2 separate regions of the Homo sapiens genome follow, and region 2 is linked to region 1. Evidence: promoter capture Hi-C in human tissues and cell types (Jung and others, 2019). All regions are on one chromosome and are shown on one strand. Each heading gives the region's core, a stretch centred on a gene start or on the middle of the fragment in contact. The rest is flanking DNA. Distances are from core to core; before and after follow the strand shown.

Evidence for each region. Contacts are between HindIII fragments. The study calls those that stand out against the background at their distance.
Region 2: a fragment that was not itself captured here is called in contact with the fragment with the promoter of DUOXA1 in region 1 in 1 of the 25 tissues and cell types used here (spleen).

What each region holds. Positions count from the first base shown.
Region 1 is chr15:45,128,336-45,131,548 of GRCh38, reverse strand. It overlaps DUOXA1 (dual oxidase maturation factor 1), which reads left to right and starts at 1,670. Exons shown (of 9, transcript NM_001276266.2): 1 at 1,670-1,697; 2 at 1,934-2,089; 3 at 2,415-2,531. It overlaps DUOX1 (dual oxidase 1), which reads right to left and starts at 1,555. Exons shown (of 34, transcript NM_175940.3): 1 at 1,451-1,555. The HindIII fragment of the contact is 11,393 bases long and covers 702-3,213 here.
Region 2 is chr15:44,987,628-44,990,840 of GRCh38, reverse strand. No RefSeq gene overlaps it. Among named protein-coding and RNA genes, the nearest start is that of TERB2, 33 kb to the right of the region's middle. The HindIII fragment of the contact is 3,284 bases long and covers 1-3,132 here.

The DNA of each region.
Region 1 (3,213 bases), core at 421-2,920:
TCTCAGTGCTGCTCCCAGTCCACTGTGGGATCTTAGATAAATCACTTCTCCAATCTGATCCTTGTTTTCCTCTTCCAGCTATGGGAGCAAATATGCCTGAACTGTTTACTTCTAAGCATGGTTGCCAGAATCAAATGTGAGAAGGAGGTTTAATTCAAAGCAAGTGACAGGTGTTGGGCAAATGTGATATAGAGAGGGTAGGCGGGAGCTTGTCTCCTCTGGTTGGATCCAGAAGGGATGCACTACCAGGTGCTCATGTATTTAGTGCAAGCTTCCTGCTCTCTCTCTCTCCACCCAGAGTCAACAGGGAAACAGAGGCAGCAGAGGACTCAGGCTGGGACTCCTGAGTGCGAGTAAGGAGTACCTAAAGCCGGCGAAGACCTCCTGAAGGCAACCTGGAGATTGGGGTTAGGATAGAGGAAGAAAGGAGCTCAGGGAAAGCCTCATCCCCAGCCAAACATCAGGGTTCCTGGATGGGTTGTCTAGAGGAGAGAACCCAGGGAGTGACCTCATCCCTACTCCATCTCCTATTAAATGAAAAAACCTAGGCCCTGCCATAACTGGAAAGCTCAGTATCACCTGCTGCATTTCACAGAGTCTGTCCAGGTGCTGGCCTTTAATAGTGCATGAAGAGCTGGGCTCTGGATGGTTGAAGCTGTAAAGCTGGATATACGGAAGTAGCCACAGCGGTCCTTCCCTGATCCCAAGATGTCATTCCCCTCCCCCGCCACCACCATGTCTTCAGGATCCTGGGCCTCAACGCTAATGTACCACTCAGCCCCTAAGGGCATGAAATGGGCTTTCAGACCAGGCTGTGTGGGGATGACCTGAAGAGGAAGGTGGACATGCTTAATAACCACTCCTTGTGGGTGGGTTGCCCTTAATGATTTACACAACGATGGGGCAGTAACTTCTCAACAACCTTGACAGGAAGGTTGCCCAGGACAGGGCAGTGAAGCCCCAGGCAGAGCCAGCGGCAGAACCAGAGAGAGAACACAGGCCTGCCTGTTCTTGCCCCACATGGCTGCTTTTCCAGCCTGAAGCCCTAGAGTGGTGACCCTGGTGGCCCTGAGGTGGGAGGAAGATGGGTCAAGGCCATCTTGGTCCTAAGGGAGGGCTGAGGGGGAAAGCTTGGATCCTAAAGCCCAAAGCTCCCTCCCTGGTATGTTGTGCTGGTGCCAGGAGAAGAACCCGCAGGCCCAGGCAAACTAGGCCACCCAACATTCCCAGGTCCCAAAGAACCCAGTCTCTCAAAACCTTGATTGGGCAGAGGACAGGCCCTAACAGGACCGGTTTTAGCCTTAGGATAAGATCGGAGGCGCAGGGGGCTAGCATTCCCCTTTCTTCCATAACGTGGAGGAGCTGCGGCTCCCCCGCCACCCTGCCCTTGGAGCTCCCTCCCCCGGAGCGCCCAGGCCCGCGGGCCGGGAAAAGCCCTCCCAAATCTGACCTGCGGCCACGGCGTCACCAGAGCCCGGGACTGCAACTTGTCTCCGGCCTGGCTGCCAGCTGGGCCCGCGGAGCCCTCTCTCGTCCGGTGCCTCTGCAGCTCTGCGCCGGGACGGGCGGGGCTGGGGGTGAGGAGGGGAAGGCACGGCCCGGCTCGGCTCAGCCACGGGGCGGGGCGCAGTGGGGCGGGATGGAGTCTGGCGCCTGGGGAGGCGCGGAGGTGCTTCCAGCGGACGGCAGCGCGCGAGGTGAGACGGCGAGGGCTCCCGGGGCGCAGGTAGAGATGTTCCGTCGGTGCCGAAGGCCCGGCTAGTGCGGTTGTGTGGACGGCGAAAAAAGCAAGTCCGCCTTCACAAGTCCCATGGGGCTGGGGAGAGGGTGGGAGGCGGAGAGGGTATGGGGAGGGGAGACTCTCCTCAGATCCTCTCGACACCGTCGGGTCTGGGCTCCAAGTCCAAGGCCATCGATCACCTGCCACCCACAGACCAGGCCAGGCGTCAAAGCAAGTCACCCATCCGACCTAAACCCCTCTAAGACCCCGGAGTCACGTCTCCCTCCGGGGATCCTCGTGAGGTCTTGGGGGTCCCACCGCCCTGCGAGCCGCGCCCGCGCCCCGCCAGACCCGGAACTGCGTCGCTAGGTTTGCGCTGGAGCTGCTGGGATTGCTGGGCATGGGTGGGGGGGCGCAGAGGAGGAGGGGGGATTGGAGGGACCTCTGCGGAGCTGGCAGACCCCGGTACTACTGTCCTGGCGCACCCAGCCCTTCTCTGTACCAGGCCGGGAGAGGGAGGCGGCGCCGCAGAGCCTCGGGTGCAGTCTGAGAAGTTTGGGAGTGACTTGAAGAGTGACTGGAAGCACCCCAGACCCGGTTTGTCCGGTCACAGCCGGGTCCTTACGTGAGTTAGGAGAGGAGTGGGGGTCGGACGGGAGCCCCACTGAGAGTAAGGGCGCGCGTTTGTTCACAGAACGTCGGGACCTGGTTCCCTCTTTAATCACACCCCCGGGGGCGCTTCGTGTGAGGTTCCACGGGGGAAGGCGAGAGGCGCAGGCTGCCACACACGCACTGTTTGGAAGAGGGGAAGGTAGGGAATAGTGGTCCGGGTGTGGGTGGTGGGGGATGCGGCTGCTTAGATCTGTGCGGTCCAGGTGATTTTGGAGGGGGTCTTGAAGTGCTTGCTCCCGCCCTGGCACCTAGGGCTGCACTTCCTGCTTTCATCCAGACCAAGTTCGGATCAAGTGGGAGTTCTTCAAAGAGAGAGTTTGGTAAGAAACTGGGGAGGCAAGGAAAACCTCTTAAGGCCATAAATGCCACAAGGTTTATAGACATCGAATCGCCATCCCAGTTTAACTCGAGTCTGGATACTTTGGCTTGCATGATTCTGCACCCTTGAATTCCTTATCCACATCAGCCCTTACTGGGGAATCCTGCCTCCAATCCACTTTTCAGATCTTGTTCAATTTCTCCACTTAACTCCTATTTTTGTGCAACAACACACATATACATTCATACACAGATACACACGTACACACAGACCCCTTCCTTGAAGAGGAAAGTCTAGCACAGGAGTTCCTGACAGGGTCCCCTTAGCTAGCCACAGCTGTAAACGTTTAATGGGGTCTACCCCAATCAGAGAAAAAAGCATCACATTGCAGTAGCTGTGCATTACCAATCAGAGGTCTTGGCAACTCCAGCCATGTCACCCACTCCCCACTTGTGGAGAATTAGTGGCCCTTACTCTATAGTTTCCAGCAGATGGGGGAGGT
Region 2 (3,213 bases), core at 241-2,740, 140 kb after region 1:
TTGACCATGTATTAGGCCAAAATGAAAATATTTGTGAGATATAAACTATAGAAATAGTACAGATAACATTGTCTATATAGAAGGCATTAAAAAAGAAGAGAAGAACCAGGTGCAGTAGCTCATGCCTATAATCCCAGCAGTTTGAGAGGCCAAGGCTGGTAGATCCCTTGAGCCAAGGAGTTTGAGACCAGCCTGCGCAACAAGGTGCAACCCTGTCACTGCCAAAAAAAAAAAGAGAGAGAAGAGAACACTTTATAACTTGTTTTATGAGGCCAGCATAACCTTGATATCCAAAACAGACAAGGACATTACAAGAAAGGAAAATTACAGGATGATCTCTCTCATCAACATACATGTGAAAATTCTGAACAAAATATTAGCAAATCTAATTGTATTAATACATTCAAAGCATGTATAGTTTTTTGTTTTTTTGTTTGTTTGTTTGTTTTTGAGATGGAGTTTTGCTCTTGTTGCCCAGGCTGAATTGCAATAGCACGATCTTGGCTCATCCCAAGCTCTGCCTCCCAGGTTGAAGCTATTCTCCTGCCTCAGCCTCCCGAGTAGCTGGGATTACACGCATGTGCCATCATGCCTAGCTAATTTTTTGTATTTTTTAGTAGAGACAGGATTTCTCCATGTCGGTCAGGCTGGTCTTGAACTCCCGACCTCAGGTGATATGCCCGGCCTCCCAAAGTGCTGGGATTACAGGTATGAGCCACCACACCTCGCCAAGCATGTATAGTTTTTAAAAGCTCAACAACATGATCTGATGTGCAGTCAGGTTTGATCCACTGTTGTACATGATATAAGATGTCATCATCACAGACCATAATAGTAAATTCCCAATTGAATTGCCAATTTAGAAGCTTGACTTTTCCCGGTCACTTCAGCATTATGTAGGAAAAGACTGAACTTTAAAACCAGAGTGATCAGAGATGGAATCACAATTCTTTTTTGTTGTTGTTGTTGTTTTTTGACAGAGTCTCGCTCTGTCGCCCAGGCTGGAGTGCAGTGGCACAATCTCAGCTCACGGCACGCTCCATTGCTTGGGTTCACGCCATTCTCCTGCCTCAGCCTCCTGAGTAGCTGGGAGTGCAGGCGCCTGCCACCACACCTGGCTAATTTTTTTTTTTGTATTTTTAGTAAAGATGGGGTTTCACCGTGTTAGCCAGGATGGTCTCGATCTCCTGACCTCGTGATCTGCCTGCCTCAGCCTCCCAAAGTGCTGGGATTACAGGCGTGAGCCACCGCGCCCGCCTGGAATCACAATTCTTAGAATTTACTAGCTACGTGATTTTGGACAAGTTACCAAACCTGTTAGTGTCCATTTTTTTCAGACGTAAAATAAGAATAACACTAACTCTCTGTAATGTTCAATTGTGGAATTAAGGAGACAGTATTTATACAGGCAATATGTTGGGATGACACCCCAAAGTATCCCTAAAACTTAGAATATAAATCAATGGGACCCAAATAAAAAGGATGAGGTTAGACACCAGTAGAAATGACACAGCCAAAGAGATTATTGGATTATTTGTGGGTGTGTAATAGTCTCACCAACACCCAGATCAAATTTAAGTGGCCTGGGTATACTGTCATCTTTGGAAAATAGGAACTGGACTGCACCGGATTAGGTTAAGTCTCAACCTAATCGGTTGCATAATAACATAGGACGAAAACAATGTGCCAATCCCCACAGTAGGAACACCCTAATAACAGACATGGAGGCATCAGGCCAGTGAAGCAGGGTGGCATCAGCCATTAGAACCATGGAGCCTCCCGTACCCCACCCCTGGGGTTTCCTGCTCACTGGGCCACCTTCTGGTGACATTTTTACAGATGTGCCTATGGAAAGGGGATGACATGATGAGCCAACAAGCACATCCATCAAATCCCCTAGAGCGGTATCAATGGAAATCTAAAAGCCCTAGAAATGGGACCTTGGCCACCTCACTGCCCTTAGTGCCTGGGTGATGCTGGAGAGGATATTTTTAAGCCTCCATCTTTTTCTCCCATCCCAGTCTAGTCAGTTTATATGGCAATGAGGTGAGGAAAGGAAGCTTTGGTGATTCAGGTTTCTGGGGTGGCCACTGCATGCTTCATCATGACAAGACTGTGATGGTGACTTCTCAGACTTAGCAAATACTAGCACTTATCCCTTCTGAAGTAAAGCAGGTCCATTATGAGATGGTTTTTAATATGGCCACTTCTGGTATCTTTCATTTTTCAGAGAACATCTTGTATAACTCAAACTCCTTCTCCTCTCCTTCCTTAGTGCTGTGCCCTTGTTTGCTTCTTTCATCTCCCAGAATGCAGTCTGAACTTCAGTCACTTCCACGGCCCCCCTTTTCCTCCACACTACGCTTTTTCCCATGATCATTCTGAATACTTGTCACTGACCCTGTGGAGATCTCTTTCTCCACAGTTCATTTCCCAGTTTCACTTTCTCCTACTCAATGATGTCCCTCTCCTACCCATTCCCAGGATATGCTGAGTTTAACCACAGTCCATCATGCCAGAAAGACTAGTATGTGACGCATGGACAAAATGCTGTTTATTTTTCATGGGACAAAATGTAATGTTTTCCTGAAGGGTTATTGTTGTAATCTCTACCTGTACCAGACAACAGACAGGCTGACCTTTAGAAGGTAAAACTAAACTTCTTCCTTTTCAACTCACCCCTGTCACCATTTCAACTTCTAGGGGTTGGCAAATAAGGAGGTAGAGCTTGTTCTGTTTGATCAGTATTCTTTGCACTTAATGATCCTTATGTGCTCCAGCTTTGGCAGTTAAATCAACAATATTAATTTTGTTTTCAGTATGTGCAGAGCACCAAACCACAAGAGAAAGTGCATGACAGACAGACTCCTTGTCCTGAAAGAGATGACACTCTATGGGGAAAGACCACCCCTACTCCAAGAACACATACAACCACTCAAATGATTCAAATGGAAAAGTAGGGTGAGCGTCATCCTTACCACAAGTGCAGTCATAGGTGTGCTCCCCAAATCAGCCTGTATGGAGGCTAAGAGCATGGGCTCTGACACTTGCCATCTGATTTTAGGCAACTGCTTAAGCTCTCTAAGCCTCTTTCTTCTCTGTAAGATGGGATACCCATAGTCTCTGCTTCATAGTGTTGTAGTGAGGATTAATTAGCACATAAAAAGTGCTTAGCACAGTAATAATAATAGCTAGTTTCTTAAGCATTTGCTT